3 separate regions of the Homo sapiens genome follow, and regions 1 and 3 are each linked to region 2. The links are contacts of gene promoters, found by promoter capture Hi-C in blood cells and fetal thymus (Javierre and others, 2016). All regions are on one chromosome and are shown on one strand. Each heading gives the region's core, a stretch centred on a gene start or on the middle of the fragment in contact. The rest is flanking DNA. Distances are from core to core; before and after follow the strand shown.

Region 1 (4,411 bases), core at 417-2,916, 230 kb before region 2:
TCCACAGAAAAATAAAAAAAATTAGCTGAATGTGGTGGTACATGTCTATGGTGCCAGCTACTCGAGAGGCTGAGGTGGGAGGATCGTTTGAGCCCAGGAAGTCAATCAAGGCTGCAGTGAGCTGTGGTCACGCCACTGTACTCCATCCAGCCTGTGTGACAGAGTGAGACCCTGTCTCAAAAATGTTTTAAAAATTAAATTCATGCTACTGTGTTTATCAATTATTACAGCTCCCTTTGTGTTCTTCCTCATATTTATAAAAGATTATAACCAGATAAATTATAAAATATGCATTCAAATTATAAAGTACACATTGTTGATCTGATTGCCCTGGAGAATACTCTCTGGCACAAAAGCGGAAGTTGGATCTGATATTAGGAGGACAGGTTGAAGTGAGTTTAATAGACGTAGGACATTGTATTAACTCTTAGTTTTCTGTCTTAAAAATGAAGAGGAGGCTGGCATTTCTGGCCATGTTTCTGGCCTCTGGCTTAGGGAGGTACTCTGCTTCCCATGGTAAGGAAGTAAGTGGTATCAGAACTAGCCTCCTCTCTATAGGAAGCTATAAAACTGGACAAAAGAAATGAAGCAATTGTGTCAGCCTGTAGACAACAGGCAGCGTAAAATTTCAGTTCCTAAGAGAAGGAAAACTCGAGGTGAGCGCCACATTTGCTCAGTTTTCTGTCTGAGGACGGTTTCCCAACCCTGTTCTGTGAGTGGAGTCTAAACAGGCTGTGATGATTTCCCCTGAGCTGAAGAGGCAGAGGTCAGAGTTTGGGCAGCTGAAGCAGTTGGAATCTGTGGGGTGGACCATCATAGGGTAGGGAATTGTTCAGCAAGAGGGTCTCAGAAGTCTGTGGGGGCATTCCTGTGAGGCTGAAGCTAAGGACTGGCCTATTATTTATACATGGGGTGAAGCCACCTGAAGCTTACCATATAGACAGCAGCTGGTACAGGATGAATAGAAAAGAGATACTGGAGGTCAAGTCCTGTTGGGGTGAAAGCAATGCCAGGAACGCTGATGGTCCAGCCCTACCAGTAGAAAGATCTCATTAACACTTTGTTAACACCCCTGGCGTCCAGCTGAGACCCCAGACAGGCCATGCCTTATGAATAAAGATCTTACCCAAGAGTAAGATCTACCGTAGACCCGCCCTAACAAGGCCTAAAGCCAACCCCCAGCAAGACAGATTTCAAAGTTTGGGTCTTATCAAGAGAGGTCAAAAATGCCATGGGCTTTCCTCAGATCCACACTCATGATGCATAAAATCAAGACCACACAAATTCAGGGCCGTCAGGTAGTCATTGAACCATCTGCTAAAATACAAATTGACACTCTTCATAGGAAGATAACAGTATTCATAGTTTTTATGTGTAATATCCACAGTGGCTAATGTTCAAAAAAAGTTACTAAGACATGCAAAGAAACAGGAGAATATCCATATTCAAGAAGAAAAATCTATGGATAAGATGGCCTCAGTGTTGCACTTAGCAGACAAAGTAACTATTATGAATATATTTAAATAATTAAAGGAAAATACAGTAGTGAACAATGAGTAGTCTCAGCAGAGAAATGGAATCTATAAAAAAGAACCAAATGCAAATTCTAGACCTGAAAAGTGTAGTAACTGAAATGGAAGTTTCACTTAACAGCAGATTACATAAAACGGAAGAAGCCCATGAGTTTGAAGAGAACACAATGGAAATTATCCAGTCTGAACCACAGAAAGAAAGATCGAGACCATCCTGGCCAACATGGTGAAACCCTGTCTCTACTAAAAATACAAAATTTAGCTGGGCCTGGTGGCACGTGCCTGTAGTCCCAGCTGCTTGGGAGGCTGAGGCAGGAGAATTGCTTGAGGCGGAGCTTGCAGTGAGCCGAGATCGCGCCACTGCACTGCAGCCTGGTGACAGAGCGAGACTCCGTCTCAAAAAAAAAAAAAAAGACAATTGGGCAGGAAAAAAAATAACATTTTATTTTTTGAAAATTAATTTCCCATACTTACTCATCTGAAGGAAAAAAAAATAAATAATGGCTGAAAACTTCCTAAGTTTGATGAAAACCATTGACTTACAGAACCAAAACAGAGCCCCCTTATAGAGCCAACCCCAAGAAAGATAAATATTGGGGGAAAAAACCTAGGTACATCATAGTTAGACTTCTGAAATCTAAAAATAAGGAGAGGCTGCTGCTGGTGCTGCTGATGAGCTCATTTGGTGTGGACATGGTGCCTCTTTAGTGAAGCAGCAACTGATATCTCTGGTGTTCCCTGTGGCCCATGAAATGCCAAGAGAGGTGTCAACACTTAAGAGCAACGATCATACTAATTTGAAGGTGGTGGGGCAGATTGGTTCTGTGGTGCAGTTTAAGATTAAGAGGGATACACCATTTAGTAAACTAATGAAAGCTTATTGTGAATGAGAGGGTCTGTCAGTGAGGCAGATCAGATTCCCATTTGACAGGTGGCCAATCCATGAAACAGGCACACCTGCACACCTGGAAGTGGAAGATGAAAGTACCATTGCCATGTTCCAGTAGCAGACAGGTGTCTACTACAAAGGAACCTGCTACTTTAGTCCAGAACTCCATTCTTACAGAGCAACAATACATTCTCAGTTAGAAAACTGCAATTTGGTTCTGCCACATCCTGACTACTACAGTATAGTATTCTCTATTCTTTCATTCCCCCCCCCCCCATTCCTATATTACATGTAGAGTAAGTGGTGTGTGTACACACGCATATTGTACTTTTAAGAAAACAAAATGGCCAATGGTATGTTTTGATTACCATCAAATGGATATGGGATGGGGAAAGATACTGGTTCTGTGAAAATACTCTTTCTCCATTAGTGGCATGCTTATCTTTATATTCCAGTAACTTAATTTCCTCTCACTATTTCAACAAAAAAGCCAACATGAAAAATCCTTGCATACCTTGTTTGATTGGAGAATTTTAATGTTTTTTATTTATCATCATAAAACCAAAGACAGTTTTACAATTTTTTGTATGTAGGTGTTTCATATAGAGAAGTCTGTCTTTAAGGCGGGTAATTACTCTTAAAAATGAATCCTAGTTTTTCCTTCAAATCAAGCATCTTCTTTTTTTTTTAGACAGAATCTTGCTCTCTCGCCCATGCTGGAGTACAGTGGAGTGATTTTAGCTCACTACGACCTCCACCTCCTGGGTTCAAGCGATTCTCCTACCTCAGCCTCCCGAGTAGCTGGGATTACAGGCACCCGCCATCATGCCCAGCTAATTTTTGTAGAGACGGGATGTCACCATGTTGGCCAGGCTGGTCTCGAACTCCTGACCTCAGGTGATCTGCCCGCCTCGGCCTTCCAAAGTGCTGGGATTACAGGCGTGAGCCACCACACCTGGCGGCATCATCTTCTTTAAATAAACTTCTCGTTTAAAAAATAAACAGTGAGCTTGCAGTGAGCCAAGATTGCACCACTGCACTCCAGCGTGGGGGACAGAGCGAGACTCCCTCTCAAAAAATAAATAAATAAATAAATAAATAAATAAATAAAATAAAATAAAAAATAAAATAAAATATAATAGCCTGGCGTGGTGGTTTATGCCTGTAATACCAGCACTTTGGGAGGCTGAGGCAGGCGGGATCACCTGAGGTCAGGAGTTTGAGACCGTGAAACCCCATCTCTACTAATAATAATACAAAAATTAGCTTGGCGTGATGGCATGTGCCTGTAATCCCAGCTACTTGGGAGGCTGAGGCCTGAGAATCGCTTGAACTCGGGAGACAGAGGTTGCAGTGAGCCAAGATCGTGCCACTGCATTCCAGGCTGGGTGACAGAGTGAAACTGTGTTTGAAAAAAAAGAAAAAAGAAAGAAAGAAAGAAAGAAAAATAGGCTCATGCCTGTAATCCCAACACTTTGGGAGGGCTGACTTAAGGTCAGGAGTTTGAAATCAGCCTGGCCAACTGGGCTATACAGGAAAGATGAAGACCACTGGAAATGGTAAATGGTAGGCAAATATGACTCTCTTTCCTTCTTCTCATAACTTTCTTAAAAGACAACTAATTGTTTAAAGCAAAAATAATAACCCAGTAAAGTGAGATTTTGGACATATGTAGAGGTAAAAGATATGTCAACACTTGCATAAGGGATGGGGGATGGGTAAATGTAATTTTACTGTACAAGGTTATATTTGTGAAAAAAGAAGTAAGTGGGAAACAAGAATGTTTTATATAAAGTGAGAAAAGGAAAGGGTAAAGTAATAAATATGAAATGTCAGATTTGAAGAGGTATTATACTGACTCTAAATAGACTGATAAGTTAAGGATGAGTATTGTTAGCTCTAGAACAACTACTTAAATAACACAACAAAAAGAGACAAACAGTCATACACTGCATAGCAGCATTTTGGTCAGTGACAGACCACATATGCA
Region 2 (4,846 bases), core at 2,279-4,778:
AGGTGTGAAGTTGGGGGCTGGGGTGGCAGGTGAGTGGGGGGGATGGTCCTTGGAGCTGGCTGGGGCTGGGCTTACCAGCTCCACCTCCTGCAGGCTCTGAAGCGGAAGCCAGATTTGTTCCTGTGTGAACGATTGGATGTCAAAGCTGTGTTCCAGTGTGGTAAGTGGGGCGAGATGGACAGGTGGGCCTGGGGCTCCCCTAGAAGGATCGTTAAACTGATCTGCCTCTGCCTTTCCCACAGCTGTGCTGGCCCTCAAGTTCCCTGAGGCACCTACTGTCAAGGCCTCCTGTGGCTTCTTTGTGAGTCCCATGCTGAACCCTGACCCACTGCCACCCCAGTGCCCTCCCCTGCCCAGGACTTCAGACAGTAGGGCTGGGGTGTACAGGTCTTGTCCTCAGGGAGAGCTGGGAAGGAGCTGGGCTGATGGGCCTCTCCATCCTCTGCAGACAGAGCTGCTGCCTCGGTGTGGGGAAGTAGAGTCTGTGGGAAAGGTGGTACAGGAAGACGGTCGTATGCTGCTCATAGCAGTGCTGGAGGTGAGACGGAGCAAAGGGGGGTTTGATGGGGGTGAGGGCCCCTCACTGCTGAGGCAGCTGGCCTTCTGGGAGGCTTGAGCCTTTGGTCCCCTAAGCTCTCAGATTCTGTTTCTTCTTCAATTAAATGCCTGAAAGTTGTTAGGATTGCTGTGGGGATCAGCTGGCTCTCAAAAAGCAGCGCTCACTGTGATGTGCAGTTTGGCTTAGGAACTGTCCAGAGGGCAGTTAGGCATTCTTGCTGCAGAAGCGGCGGAAGGGGCAACACCCTGGTGTGCTGAGAACCCCTCTCCCTCAGGCCATTGGGGGCCAGGCCTCCCGCAGCCTCATGGACTGCTTTGCCGATATCCTGTTCGCCCTGAACAAGCACTGCTTCAGCCTCCTGAGCATGTGGATCAAGGAGGCCCTGCAGCCACCTGGTTTCCCCTCTGCCCGCCTCAGCCCTGAACAGAAGGATACCTTCAGCCAGCAGATCCTTCGGTGAGCAGAGCTGGGGTGGGCCTGGGGTCAGGCAGAGAGGGGGCAGTGGTGGTGGCTGGTGCTAACCTGCTCTCCCTTTTCTCCTTCAGCGAGCGAGTGAACAAGAGGCGGGTGAAGGAGATGGTGAAGGAGTTCACACTGCTGTGCCGGGGTCTCCATGGCACAGATTACACAGCTGACTACTGAGGGGTGCCCCCATCCCATCCACCCCTTCTCTTCATCCTTCCCTATTCCCAAAGAGTAAACCTGGACCCTCACTGCTGTCTCTGCCTCCTTTCTGCTGTCACCACCACCTAACTGAAAGCCTGGGTCCAGAAGGCCTGGGGGAAGGATGGGAGGATGCTTGGACCCAGGCCTTGGGAGGGAATGGTGGGAACATCCTCTAGCTCCCAGGTTGGAAGAGATACTACTGTAGCCAAGCCACCTAGGCTGGAGCCCTTCAGAATACTGTCATTGTCCTTGGGGCGGGGTGGTTGCAGTAGTGTCATCAACCCCCCCATCCCCATTAAATTAATCCCAACATGCATGTATGCATACATTTATTTAATCAACACCGCCGAATATTAGGCCCCTAGCTCTGTCCTGCGTCGTTCTGCCCTGAACAAAGGTTGATCTAGTCCATAGCTACCATGGAGAATGGTAGGAAGTGAGGGAAGGCTGCATGGAGAAAGTTTTTGACAGGAATAGTAGGCTTTCTAGGTAGAGGACTTGAGACTTTGGGCTGCAAGTGGGGTAGGGCTGGGTCCGTTTAGGAAGGAAGAAATGGAGTGGAGTTTTGACTTCCGGGAGGGGTTTCTGGTGTGGAGTTATACAACATCGAACTTGCATATGGTTGAGGAGGGCTATAGAAAGGGGCTGAGTGTGTGTGTATTGGGGGGTGGGTGGGTGGCAGGGAGGTGAAGGAGAGAAGATATCTCAGCCGCAGAGGAGAAAAGAGGAAAGTAGGACCTAAGGTTGTCCATATGTCCGCTGCTCCCCGCTTACACAGGACCTCCAGCACAGGATGGTCAGGGATCAATCAGCACCAGGGACAGCTCCTGACCTATTCTTGCTTTTCTCCCTTAGCAGTGTTGCCTCCCTTTCTGTCTCCTCAGCTATAGTTTCACCTAGGCTGCCTCTCAGGTACCCCAGGCTTCTCCTCAGTAAGATCTGAAGAGCAGAATGAGTTCTCCCCACTTTTACCCTTGAGCTTTCAATCTCCTTGTGGGTGATGGGGAACTCGTTACTCCCACATTCATCCCACTCCTTCCCTGTTCAATAGATCCGGGTTTGATGCTGGTTGTGCCACAGAATTAGTGTCTTATTACACAAGTAGTCTCTTTGAACCTCAGTTTCCGTATCTGACAGAGGTATGTAAGGAGGGCATTTCAAGTGATGTTGCATGTGGGGGTGTTTGCATATAAGTAAACATGGGGAGTAGAGGGGATGTGAGGGGCTGGAGGGTAGAGGTCTATGTGGTATGCACTGGGGGTATTGCTGGGAAGCAGCAGTGTTTGAGGATGGCTGGAGCTGTGCAGAGCATCTCCTGTGACTTGAGGATGTGCCAGTCATGTCCTTGGTACCACTCGGGATAATTCTTACTCCAAAGACTGTAAACACTAAAAATGAAGTGCCTAATGTACAGTAAGTGCTCAGTATTTGGCTGATTAAATAGCAAATGCTTTCACTGCATGCGATATCCAAAGAACTACTTTGTAAAGTTTTGTATATAAATTAATTAGACCCTCACAACAATCTTATTAAGAGGTACTATTGTCACAACTCCCCATTCTTCAGATAAGGAAATGGGCATAGGGACATTCCTAAGATACTCAGTAGCAAGTGACCAAGCACAATATTCAAACCCGAGCCGGTCGGCACCAAGTTTAAAATTATGCAGTGTAGCCGGGCACGGTGGCTCACGTCTGTACTCTCAGCATTTTGGGAGGCCGAGATGAGTGGATTGCTTGAGTTCAGGAGTTTGTGACCAGTCTGAGCAACATGGCAAAAACCTGTCTCTACAAAAAATACAAAAATTAGCTGGATGTGGTGGTGCGCCTGTAGCCCCAACTACTCAAGAGGCAGAGGTGGGAGGATGGCTTCAGTCCAGGAGGTGAAGGTTGTGGAGATCGCGCCACTGCACTCCAGTCCAAGCAACATAGCGAGACCTTGTCAAAAAAAAAAAAAAATGAATGAATGAAAGAATTATGCAGTGATACTGCCCAGAGGATAGAGTGCACGTGAAATGCTTAACAGTGAAGTCGGTGTTCCTGATGGCCGCGGGTCGGCTGAACCGGACTCCCAGCGCCCGAGAGGAGGCCAGGGGAACTACAATGCCCACAAGGCTCCGCGCCTTCCTCGATGTACTTCCGGCTGGCCTGGGACTCAGGCTGAACATTGGTTCTCTGTGCGGGGCGGTGGCGGGGATTGGAGGGCGGGAGCTGTGCTGACTTAGGATTGGCAAAATCGCTATCAGCCACGCCTCTAAAACCCGGAAGTAACCTCCCCGGTAGTCCCACGTGTAGCGGAGAAACAGTAGTTAGGATGGCTGAAGGGGATACTCACCGGCTGAAGGCCGACTGTGATTCCCCCTACCCCCACAAGGCGATTTTGACCCCCTGAGGGCTGCTCTAGAGGACTCAGGCCCCGAAGCTGTCCCAGGGAGGTCCCCGCTGCATCCCACCACCCAAGCTGTGCCTCATGGAGTCGATGTTTAGCAGCCCTGCCGAGGCGGCGCTGCAGCGAGAGACCGGGGTGCCAGGACTGCTTACTCCTCTTCCGGACCTGGACGGAGTGTACGAGCTGGAGCGAGTCGCTGGATTTGTCCGCGACCTGGGGTGTGAACGAGTGAGGACAGACTTAGGGAAGGGTGGCTCGCCTCTGTCGGGATGGGTCGCCCAGAGGATCCGGATCTTGGGGGATTTTGTGAGGGCGAGAGGGTGGGGGAATCAGTCTGTCCGCAGCGCGTTGACCATCCCTCCCTTCCACCTACTACGTGGGGCAGAGTGCCCCTCTGGGACCAGGGGCTTTGAAGGTTGAGTGGGAGCTCCTGGAAGATTGCTTTAAAGAAGCCCTCAGTGGGAGAGAGGCTGTCCCTGACTCCATGGTTTATGCTTATAGGTTGCCTTGCAGTTCCCTGACCAGCTATTGGGAGATGCTGTGGCTGTGGCTGCACGACTGGAGGAGACGACAGGGTCAAAGATGTTCATTCTGGGTGACACAGCCTACGGCAGGTGTGAACTTGGCCTTAGGTGGGCCAGGCCTGGGGATCCGGGGCTCATGGGGTTTTACGTCTATGACAGTGATTGCCTTCAATGGTGGTGTTTCTCCTTGATGATAATGGTAATGACTCCCCTTCTGATGCTAGCTCCTTTCATTGACAATGTCTTCCTTTAATGAAACCATTTTATTCACTGACCACATTTCCCAGTGATGACAGCAACTCGCCTCCAGAAGAGAACCCATTTCTCTGATGCTATCTTCCCTGCAGCTGCTGCGTGGATGTGCTGGGTGCTGAGCAAGCTGGAGCTCAGGCTCTCATACATTTTGGCCCTGCCTGCTTAAGCCCTCCAGCCCGCCCACTGCCCGTTGCCTTCGTGCTTCGTCAACGTTCTGTGGCCTTGGAGCTCTGTGTCAAGGCCTTTGAGGCCCAGAACCCAGACCCCAAAGCGCCTGTGGTGCTGCTGAGTGAGCCGGCCTGTGCCCATGCCCTGGGTAAGGGGTTTTGCCTGTGTATGCACAAAGGGTGAGCCAACTGCTTTATGCCTTAATTTCCCCATTTCCATATACCATCCATAGAACTCTTGATATGGGCTTGGCCCCAGCCTACTGGGTCATATTTAGTCTCCTGGG
Region 3 (4,704 bases), core at 1,356-3,855, 200 kb before region 2:
TCATAGTATCATAGTTTTACTTACCTGGGGACATTTTAAAAGGCTGAGGAAAGCTAAACTTTATCAGAGAGAAGGAAAAGAAGGGAGGAATACAGAGCTGAGAATTTAAGGATTCCTTGCTCTGGAAAGGCAAAAAAGGGTAAAACAATTTCATGTGCATGTGTGTGTCTGTGTGTGTCTGTGTGTGTGTGTGTGTGTGTGTGTGTGTGTGCGCGCGCGCGCGCGCGTCCGCGCGTCCGCGTGCGCTTTTTTTTTAGTGGTATAGGAGAAGATTGAGAAGCTTCTGATCCTGCCATGTAGCTGTAAAAACAAGCTCCTCTTTCCCTCAGCCATAACAGGATTGATGTCTTTCACATGGTAACAATGGAGATAGATGTGTGCTGCAGGGAAGCACATGAGCTTCTCTGTGCTTGAAGAAAGAAGCTTGAAGAGACAGGTCTCTTCACTGAGACCAGCACCATTATTCATGTTCCTATTTCTCCTCTAAGAGCTGGAATAAAAAATCCAGTGGAGGAAATTACAAGGAAATAGTCATTCAAATAGCCCTGACAGCTCCTTGCCCGGATTCACATGAATACCACCCAAGTAGCCCTTAAGTCAGAGGAAGAGAGGCCAAGGGAGAGATATCAATGACTTCTTCTGTCAGTCTATGAGGATTACTGCTGACTGACAGCTTGTTACTTACTCAGCTTTATTCCAGGCAGTGTGGGGCATTTAGGAAGAGAGGTGCCTGGGCCTGGGAATTTTAAAGACTGAAAGCTGAGACTCACAGGAAGTAACCAAGGACAAGACAATGAGATGAAGTGTTTCAGAGACAACAAAGAAGTGGCGATTTAAAAAAAAATAAGTAAATAAATAAGAAGTGATGTCAAGGAAAGCTTTGAGGAAGAGATGGGCACTGAAGCAGGGACCTGGCGGTTGGGGTAGGACATGTGGGGACCTGGGAAAGTGCTCTAGCAGACAGAGTACTCGAAATATTTTGTAAGCTTCAGTGAGAGCTGAGAGCGGCTTGTGAGGAATGGTGGGGGGCGGGGAGTAGTGAGACCGAGGATTGCAGAGCAGGGCAGAGTCGATGACAGAAGGCCCTAAGGTGAGGTGTGGAGTTTAGATTTAATGCAGCAGGGCCATTAAAGGCTTCTACCCTTAATGGAAAGACCTGGTGGAAAAGTAGTGTTCTGGACTTTTGTGTGAAGGAAAATTAACAACACAGAGGTCTCTTCTGGAATTTCTGTTGAGCACCTAGAATTTAAAATGGGAGGTTGTGTTCCTTTATTCCCTCAGCAAAATAAGAGGAAGTGACTCTCAAGCCTGGACTTGAAAGATGAATGAATAAGATGAGAAGTGCATTCTAGGCAGTGATAGTAGCATGAATAAAGTGGAGGGGCCTGGAAAAGGGCTGGGAGAGTCTTGTGTGGAATGCAGAGTTTGGATTCTGAGTTAGGCGGAAGCAGCTGATGAAAAGGAGAGAGAGAAATGTGGTCGGATTTGCATTTTAGAAGGCTCACTTTGGCAGCTGTGTGGAGGCTAGATTGCGAGAGAAAGAAAAGAGGTAGGGATACCAATAGCCACAGCACTTCACCACTTGAGGAGTTTCAGGGACGGACAGATGCTTGGAAAGGCCTTGTGGTGGAGGTAACATCTGAGCTGAGTAGGGAGGGCTAGGAGGAGCAGAAAGGCAGAGGGAAGATTATGGATAGAGGCGCAAGAGTGCAAGGCATGGCATGAGTGAAAACCAGGGGAAGATGGATGTGGCTGGCATATAGAGTCTCTGGGGGATGGTACTCCCTGGGCAGGTAGGTAATGAGTCAGGTCACAAAGGTCCTTCTTTATATGTCACAGTGAACAGGGAACAGTTTAGACTTCATCAGGTAAATGAAGGGGAAGCCACAGACCATACCTAAAGCAAGTCTCAACAAGTGTCAGAGGATTGATCACATGCAGAATCAATCCTCTGACCACAGTGAAATTAAGCTAGAAATGAATAACAAAAAGATAACTAGAATATTAAGAAATGAATTTGTAAATAATCATTGGGTCAAAGAAAAAATCATGGGAAGTAGAAAATATTTTGAATTGCATGATACTGAAAATATCAAAACTTGGGTGGGGGGGTAGGGGAAGGATAGCATTAGGAGAAATACCTAATGTAGATGATGGGTTGATGGGTGCAGCAAACCGCCATGGCACGTGTTTACCCATGTAACAAACCTGCACGTTCTGCACATGTATCCCAGAACTTAAAGTATAATTAAAAAAAAAAAAAGAAAATATCAAAACTTGTCAAAACTTGTATGATGCTACTATAACCTATAAGCATAGAGGGAAGTTTGTAGACTTTAATGCATGTTAGAAAAATAACCGAAGGTTGAAAAAAATTAGTAATCTAAACATCAATTTCAAGAAGTTAGAAAATGTAGAGCACATTAAACCCAAAGAAGGAAAACAGAAAATAATAGTTTGATGAAAAAGAAAAAAAAATACAGAGGATCAACAAAGTCAAAAATTTGTTCTTTCAAAAGATTAACATACTTTTCCAAGGAGCAAGTTTTTTTAAAAAAAGATTAATAAAATTGACAAATGCTGGGCACAGTGGCTCATGCCTATAATCCCAGCACTTTGAGAGGCCAGTATTTGAGGATCACTTGAGGCCAGGAGTTTGAGACCAGCCTGGACAACACAGCAAGAGCCTGTCTCTACAAAAAAATTTTTTTTAAAATTAGCTGGGTGTGGTGGTACATGCCTGCAGTCCTAGCTACTCCAGGTGGCTGAAGCAGGAGACTCACTTGAGCCCAGGTGTTCAAGGCTGCAGTCAGATATGATCACACTACTGCACTCCAGTCTGGGCAACAGAGCAAGACCCCATCTCTAAAAATAAAAAATAAATTTTTCAAAATTAAAATTGACAGACTTCTGGCAAGACTGATTGTGGAGGTCAGGGAGGAGAGAAATTGAAGCACAAGTGCCAGTGAACAATGCCAGGAACAGGAAGGGAGACCACACTACAGGAGCTATAGGCTTGAAAAAGATAAAAAGAGGCTGTATGAACAATTTTATGCCAAAAGTCCTGAGAATTTTGTGAAAATAGATCCATTTCTAGAATAATATCCGACTAAAACTGACTCAAGACATCATGGAAAACCTTAGAATCCTATAAACTTTTTAAACCAATGGAATCAATAATCCAAAATCTTTCTCCCCAGAGAACTTCAAACCCAGAGGGCTTCACTGGAGATTTCTTCAGCAGATTGAAAAGAATAATTAATTCCAGCTTTGTTCAAACAGTTCCAGAGAACTGAAAAAGAGGGACACTCCTTACTCATTTTTTTGAGACTAGCATAACCTTGATACCAAAACTGAAGAAAGACAAACTCAAGAAAGGAAGATTAAAGGCCAAGCTACCTAAAAATATAAATGTAAAAATCCTCAACAGACATTTAGCAAATTCCACAATATATAAAAAAGATAATAGATCACCATCTAGTAGTTGGGCTTATCCTAATATACATGGTTGATGTAACGTTAGAGAAATTCATCAGTGTAATTAATCACATTCATAGGTTAAATAGATTTTTATTAGATTAAAAAGAAAAACATTTCAGTAGATACAGAACAAGCATTTAATAAAATTCAGCATGTGTTGATGCTGGAACTGCTTAGCAGACTAGGACTAGCAGAGAGCTTTCATCTGAAAAAGGGTATCTGTTCGTAAAACTCAAGCAAATATTTTAAGGGTGAAATTTTGAAAGTTTTCCCTTCAAGATCAGGAACAAGACAAGAACATTCCCAAACCACTTTTTTTCTAATATTGAGCTGAATGCCTAGCCTGGTGCACTGAGGCAAGAAAAACCCATGATGAAAATCTTAACCGAGGAAGTAGCAGGATGGGGAGGGGAGGGCATGGGCTTGGGAGACATTTGGGAAGAAGCCTTGTCATGCCTTGGGTTCCTGTGTTCGTTTCTTTTTTTCAACACATATTGACTAAATATAATATCTGGTAATAGGGAAGGTAGGAAAGAGAAGCAAAGGAAAGGGGCCTAACATTTATTCAGTTCCTACCCCGTGAAGGTGCTGGACTAGATGGTTCAAGTGTTTTAGCTTATTTCATTCACATACTCTCTTTGCTATCTTGAGAACTCCTGTAATTAGTCATCCGGGAAACTACATAAGAAAAAGGTAATATACTATATATTTGCATAAAATCATTCCCATTGTAAAATAGTAGTTCAAGCTTGTTTTTAGGTATAAAAGGATGTTGTATTTTATGTACTAGTTCTGTTTTTATTTTTTCTCTCATTTTTATTCATATAACAGGTCTTTGAAGTAGAATAAAGTCTGGCAAATGGTCTTTTTCTAATTTTATAGATAAAGAAGCGAGTACAGAATTACACTGATTAGCTCAATTGTCAATATGGGACTGAAACTTCAATCTTTCATCCCAGGGAGTAAATAATTTAAACTATAACTTGAACCATGGAGTAAATAATTTAAACTGTAACTTGAAAGCACATAATCAAAAGATTTTTGAAATGGAAATATGCTGGGGTCCTGGAAGCATGGTTCAAGGAATCAAGCAGAATATTCTCTAGTAAAAGTCTTTGTAAGACTAACTATGAAAGAGAGAGGAGACAGAGAGAAGTGAGGAGAGGAGAGGGGAGGGGAGGAGAGGAGAGGGGAGGGGAGGAGAGGAGAGGGGAGGGGAGGAGA

The links. Contacts are between HindIII fragments. The CHiCAGO score rates a contact against its expected background, and 5 or more counts as called.
Region 1: a fragment that was not itself captured here is called in contact with the fragment with the promoter of DPH2 in region 2 in 1 of 17 cell types (M2 macrophages); the score reaches 5.7 in M2 macrophages.
Region 3: a fragment that was not itself captured here is called in contact with the fragment with the promoter of DPH2 in region 2 in 4 of 17 cell types (endothelial precursors, monocytes, M2 macrophages and 1 more); the score reaches 7.5 in endothelial precursors.

Annotation. Positions count from the first base shown.
Region 1 is chr1:43,741,159-43,745,569 of GRCh38, forward strand. The region is part of intron 2 of ST3GAL3 (ST3 beta-galactoside alpha-2,3-sialyltransferase 3); the gene reads left to right. Among named protein-coding and RNA genes, the nearest start is that of ST3GAL3-AS1, 16 kb to the left of the region's middle. The HindIII fragment of the contact is 1,480 bases long and covers 927-2,406 here.
Region 2 is chr1:43,966,482-43,971,327 of GRCh38, forward strand. It overlaps DPH2 (diphthamide biosynthesis 2), which reads left to right and starts at 3,529. Exons shown (of 6, transcript NM_001384.5): 1 at 3,529-3,841; 2 at 4,115-4,227; 3 at 4,485-4,708. The coding sequence starts at 3,695. IPO13 (importin 13) reads left to right here. Exons shown (of 20, transcript NM_014652.4): 16 at 94-160; 17 at 243-301; 18 at 449-538; 19 at 834-1,015; 20 at 1,105-1,541. The coding sequence ends at 1,201. RefSeq lists enhancers at 3,560-3,839, 4,325-4,846. The HindIII fragment of the contact is 12,483 bases long and covers 1-4,846 here.
Region 3 is chr1:43,765,575-43,770,278 of GRCh38, forward strand. All of the region lies in intron 2 of ST3GAL3 (ST3 beta-galactoside alpha-2,3-sialyltransferase 3), which reads left to right. Among named protein-coding and RNA genes, the nearest start is that of ST3GAL3-AS1, 41 kb to the left of the region's middle. RefSeq lists an enhancer at 1,315-1,850. The HindIII fragment of the contact is 3,242 bases long and covers 985-4,226 here.